Linked DNA regions of Homo sapiens: region 2 is linked to region 1. The links are contacts of gene promoters, found by promoter capture Hi-C in blood cells and fetal thymus (Javierre and others, 2016). All regions are on one chromosome and are shown on one strand. Each heading gives the region's core, a stretch centred on a gene start or on the middle of the fragment in contact. The rest is flanking DNA. Distances are from core to core; before and after follow the strand shown.

Region 1 (2,967 bases), core at 151-2,650:
TACTGTGTTGCCCAGGCTGGTCTTGAACTGCTGAGCTCAGGCAATCTGCCTGCCTCAGCCTCCTAAAGTACTAGGATTACAGGCATGGGCCACCACGCCCGGCCTTATTTTTATTTTTGAGACAGTCTCACTCTGCCGCCCAGGCTGGAGTGCAGTGGTGCGATCTCGGCTTACCGCAATCTCTGCCTCCCAGGTTCAAGCGATTCTCATGCCTCCGTCTCCCAAGTAGCTGGGATTACAGGCACCTGCCACCATGCCCGGCTAATTTAACGCCCAGCTAATTTTTGTATTTTTAGTAGAGATGGGGTTTCACCATGTTAACCAGGCTGGTCTCGGACTCCTGACCTCAGGTGATCCGCCCGCCTCGGCCTCCCAAAGTGCTGGGATTACAGGCGTGAGCCACTGTGCCTGGCTGATTTTTATTCTTTTAGTTAAGGCTGGTTGATATTACCTTGTGTGTATATACCACATGTTGTTTATCCATTGTTGTTGATGGACATGTGGGTGGTTTCACCTTTTGGCTATTGTGAATAAAGCTGCTATGAACACTGTGTACAAATATGTTAGAGACCCTGTTTTCAGTTCTTTTAGGTGTGTACCCCGAAGTGGAATTGCTGGATTTTATGGCAATCCCACGTTTAACTTCTGGAGGAGCTGCTGGAACTGTTTTCCACAGCAGGGGCGCCATGTTACGTCCCTGCCAGCAATGCACGCGCAGTTCAATTTCTCTGCATACTCACCAATATCTGCTGTTTTCCATTAAAAAAAATTATAGCCGGTCGGGTGCAGTGGCTCATGCCTGTAATCCCAGCACTTTGGGAGACCGAGGCAGGTGGATCAACTGAGGTCAGGAGTTCAAGACCAGCCTGGCCAACACAGTGAAACCCCATCTCTACTAAAAATACAAAAATTAGCCTGGTGTGGTACATACCTATAATCCCAGCCACTTGGGAGGCTGAGGCAGGAGAATCGCTTGAACCTGGGAGGTGGAGGTTGTAGTGGGCCGAGATGGCGCCACTGCACTCCAACCTGGGCAAAAAGAACGAGACTTTGTCTCAAAAGAAAAAAAAAAAATACAGCCATTCCAGAAGGTGTGAAGTCATATCTCACTGTGGTTTTGATGCGTATTTTCCTAGTGACATCAGGGAGTTTATGGGAGCACGGGAACACAGACCAGGCCCCAGCAGGCGGACAAACGGTGCAACGCCAGGCTGGCCAGAGGAGATAAGCGCGGCTCCTTGGAGCTTGTGTGCAAGTCACTGTACTGAGGAGCCGGCTACGGCTCGATGAGTCTCAATTAGGAAAGGCCGGGGCTGGTGGAGGAAGGGAGGAGAGCATTCTTCATCCTCATCACATCCTGAGCCTGTGCCCCAGGCTCCCACCACTTCCCTCCCTGGCCACAGAGCTCAGGACAGGGCTGAGGAACCATGTCTCCATCCCCGACCGCCCTCTTCTGTCTTGGTGAGTCCTGAGGGTCAGATCTGGGAAATGCTGAAGGACAGGCATGGACTGCCAGACAAAGGATTTTTAAGAAATTTGCATTGGTGATGAATTTCAGGACAAAAAGGAACCTGTAAGAGCCCCTTCATTTGTTGGGTGGGGAAACGGGGGGCCAGCGAGCTGGCATTTTGCATGAGTTATTCCAGTGTATTCATGGCTGGGTCAGGAAATGAACAGAGTATCCTAGCATTGGTCACAACTTTGTTCTACTACACTGCAGTTGCCCCTTTTTTAAAAAATGTGGGCCAGGCACAGTGGCTCACGCCTGTAATCTCAACCTTGGGAGGCCGAGGTGGGTGGATCACCTGAGGTCAGGAGTTCAAGACCAGCCTGGTCAACATGGTGAAACCCCATCTCTACAAAAATTAGCCGGGCGTGATGGCGGGTGCTTGTAATCCCAGCTACGTGGGAGGCTGAGGTGGGAGAATTGCTTGAAACTGGGAGGCAGAAGTTGCAGTGAGCTGAGGTCAGGCATTGCACTCCAGCCTGGGCAACAGAGAGAGCCTCCATCTCAAAAAAAAAAAAAAAAAAAAAAAAAAAGGCTGAGTGCCATGGCTTACACACTTTGGGAGGCCGAGGCGGGTGGGCCATCTGAGGTCGGGAGTTTGAGACCAGCCTGACCAACATGGAGAAACCCCATCTCTACTAAAAATACAAAATTAGCCGGGTGTGGTGGCACATGCCTGTAATCCCAGCTACTCTGGAGGCTAAGGCAGGAGAATCGCTTGAACCTGGGAGGTGGAGGTTGCGGTGAGCCAAGATCACACCATTGCACTCTGGCCTGGGCAACAAGAGCGAAACTCCGTCTCAAAAAAAAAAAAAAAAAAATTGTGGAATTGATATCTGGACTAGGTATGGATTTAATTTGTCAGTATCCCCTACAGTAGTGGAGTAAATAGTCTCCTGATGGATGGGTGGCAGGTCGAATGCATTTCTGCTGCCTGATCTTCACTTGTGCTGGGCATGTCGAATGCATTATTTCCTGATTTCTTCAGAATTTGACCACTAAAGGGACAGCATCTCCAAAAGGCTAAGCAGGAAGAAGATGGTTGCATTACTGGAGATGAGAGGGTTAACTGTGAATATAAACAACCTCTCATTCATTATCCATCCATGGATGTATTCTTTTTTTCTTTTTGTTTGTTTTTTGAGATGGAGTCTCGCTCAGTCGGTCGCTCAGGCTGGAATGCAATGGCATGATCTCAGCTCACTGCAAACTCTGCCTCCCGGGTCCAAGTGATTCTCCTGCCTCAGCCTCCCGAATAGTTGGGATTACAGGCATCTGCCACCAGGTCTGGCTAATTATTGTATTTTTAGTAGGGGCGGGGTTTCACCATGTTGGCCAGGCTGGTCTCAAGCTCCTTACTTCAGGTTCCACCCGCCTCGGCCTCCCAAAGTGCTGGGATTACAGGCGTGAGCCACCGCACCCAGCCTGTTTTAACTTTTATTTATTTAATTTTATTTGAG
Region 2 (2,967 bases), core at 210-2,709, 170 kb after region 1:
GGTGCCTGTAATTCCAGCTACTCGGAAGGCTGAGGCAGGAGAGCCACTTGAACCCAGGAGGCAGAGGTTGCAGTGAGCCAAGATCACTGCACTCCAGCCTGGGCAACACAGAGCGAGACTGTGTCTCAAAAAAACAAAAGCTATTGTTATGGTTTACAAATGACGTGGCTTTCTATTGGGAGAGAGATACTTACTAATTGTTGAATTTCAGGAACTTCAGTGGCCAATATTTACTAATGGGCTGGAACAGATTTTGTCAACTTACCACAACATTTGGTGTGGTTTTGTTCTTTTGTTTCCTCCTTTTGTGGAACAGGAATGGTAACGTAGCCATGGGGTGCTGAGATATTTGGTTAAACATTATTCTGTGTGTGTCTGTGGGGGTGTTGCTGAATGAGATTATCAATGGAATTAGTGTAATTTATAAAGCAGATTGCTCTCCCTAATGTGAGTCGGCCTCATTCAATCAGGTGGGACCTGAATAGAACAAAACATTGAACTGGTAATGTAAGATGAAGTTCCTTTTGCCTGGACATCAGTCTTTTCTGGCTCTTGAACTCTCACTAAAACATTGACTCTTTAGATGTTAAGCCTGCCAGCTTTTTTTGTTTGTTTGTTTTTTTGAGATAGAGTCTCACTCTGTCACCCAGGCTGGAGTGCTGTGGCATGATCTCGGCTCACTGCAACCTTCACCTCTTGGGTTCAAGCAATTCTCGTACCTCAGCCTCTGAGTAGCTGGGATTACAAGCGAATGCCACTATGCCCGGCTAATTTTTGTATTTTTAGTAAAGATGGGGTTTCACCATGTTGGCCGGGCTGGTCTTGAACTCTGACCTCAGGTGATCTGCCTGCCTTGGTCTCCCAAAGTGTTGGGATTACAGGCGTGAGCCATCATGCCCGGCATGAGCCTGCTAGCTTTTGGACTGTTACGTATACCACTAACTCTACTGGTTCTCAGACTTTTGCACGTAGACTGGAACTACACGTGGACTCCCCTGGGTCTCCAGCTTGCAGATGGCAGATCATGGGACCTGTCAGTCTACATAGTTGCATAAGCCAATATATAAATACCCTATCTGTGTATCAATCATTATATATCTGTCATTATCCAACTATATGTCTATCATTATTTGTGATATCATTATATATCTATCATTATTTGTCTATCAATCATTATCTATATATCTATCATTATTAGTGTTGATTATTTTTTTTTCTGGAGAACCCTGACTACTATAGCTTCCATGTTCCTGTCTCAACTGTCACCAGTCCCCTTAGCACAGGGCCTATCATAGCCATTCTACGGCCCAAGGAATTACAAGCCACATAACTACAGGAGTCACAGTGACCCAAGGATTTAGACGGAGACACGGAAGAATTGAGGCATCTATTGGTCTCTGCATATTTTGGGATTTGGGATTTCCCAGCAGGGAAATTTGCCTTGAATCTGTCTAACTGGTCACTAAGAGTTGATTGGTAGGTTCCATTCTCCGTGCACAGCATAAACCCTAATAAGCCCAAACTGACTGGCAGTGGAGACTCTCAACCCTCAATGGGACCAAACTGTGACTGGCAGTGGAGACTCTCAACCCTCAATGGGACCAAACTGTGACTGGCAGTGGGGACCTTCAACCCTCAGTGGGACCGAACTGTGACTGGCAGTGGGGACCTTCAACTCTCAGTGGGACTTTACAGCACTCAGCTGCACCTGTGTGGAGAATTTGTCTCAAACACCTAAGAAGGAAGGAGGCCTTTGTTTCGAGGAAGAAGAAGGGGAGCTGCTTCTCTATCCACTGACCTCAGAGGTACCGGAGAGTGTCCAGTGAGGGCCTTAACTCTCTGCAGTATTTTTTTTTTTTTTGAGATGGAGTCTCACCCTGTCGCCCAGGCTGGAGTGCAATGGCAGGATCTCGGCTCACTGCAACCTCTGCCTCCCCAGTTCAAACGATTCTCCTGTCTCAGCCTCCTGAGTATCTCAGATTTACAGGCACCTGCCACCATGCCCAGCTATTTTTTGTATTTTTAGTAGAGACAGAGTTTCACCATGTTGGCCAGGCTGATCTCGAACTCCTGACCTCGTGATCTGCCCACCTCCGCCTCCCAAAGTGCTGGGATTATAGGCGTGAGCCACTGCACCCAGCCACTCTCTGCAGTTTTAAAGGCCATTTCCATGAATTAGAGTATACTTAGGCACTGAGGTAAGCATGGCACAGCTTTCTGAAAATAAAGTTGAAACTTAGAGGTTTCTTTTAGCTTTATTGAGATATGATTGACAAATGGAAATTGTATATATTTAAGGTGTATTACACTTGATGTTTTGATGTATGTATACATGGTGACATGATCATCATAGTCAAGCTAGTTATATCCATCATCTCGCAGGGTTATTGTTTTTTTTTTTTTTTTTTTTTTGAGAGGAAGTCTTACTCTGTCCCCCAGGCTAGAGTGCAGTGGTGCCATCTTGGCTCACTGCAACCTCCGCTCCCAGGTTCCAGCAATTCTCGTGCCTCAGCCTCCTGAGTAGCTGGGATTACAGGCTTGTGTCACCACGCCTGGCTAATGTTTGCATTTTTAGTAGAGACAGGGTTTCACCATGTTGGCCATGCTGGTCTTGAACTCCTGACCTCAAGTGATCTGCCCGTCTTGGCCTCCCAAAGTGCTGGGATTACAGGCGTGAGCCACCGCGCCCGGCCTATGGTTTCTTTTTCTTTCTTTCTTTTTTTTTTTTTTGTGGTGAGGACCCTTAAGATCTACTCTCCCAGCCGGGCGTGGTGGCTCATGCCTGTAATCCCAGTACTTTGGGAGGCCGAGGCAGGCGGATCACGAGGTCAGGAGATCGAGACCATCCTGGCTAACACAGTGAAACCCCGTCTCTACTAAAAATACAAAAAATTAGCAGGGCGTGGTGGCGGGCGCCTGTAGTCCCAGCTACTCGGGAGGCTGAGGCAGGAGAATGGCGTGAACCCA

The links. The method cuts DNA at HindIII sites, captures the fragments that hold promoters and counts their contacts. A CHiCAGO score of 5 or more calls a contact.
Region 2: a contact is called between a fragment that was not itself captured here and the fragment with the promoter of GP6 in region 1, in 1 of 17 cell types (M2 macrophages). The highest score is 5.4, in M2 macrophages.

Annotation. Positions count from the first base shown.
Region 1 is chr19:55,036,697-55,039,663 of GRCh38, reverse strand. It overlaps GP6 (glycoprotein VI platelet), which reads left to right and starts at 1,400. Exons shown (of 8, transcript NM_016363.5): 1 at 1,400-1,461. The coding sequence starts at 1,428. The region is part of intron 2 of GP6-AS1 (GP6 antisense RNA 1); the gene reads right to left. It also overlaps a transcript of RDH13 not described here. The HindIII fragment of the contact is 26,016 bases long and covers 1-2,967 here.
Region 2 is chr19:54,869,157-54,872,123 of GRCh38, reverse strand. No RefSeq gene overlaps it. Among named protein-coding and RNA genes, the nearest start is that of FCAR, 3.6 kb to the left of the region's middle. The HindIII fragment of the contact is 5,393 bases long and covers 1-2,967 here.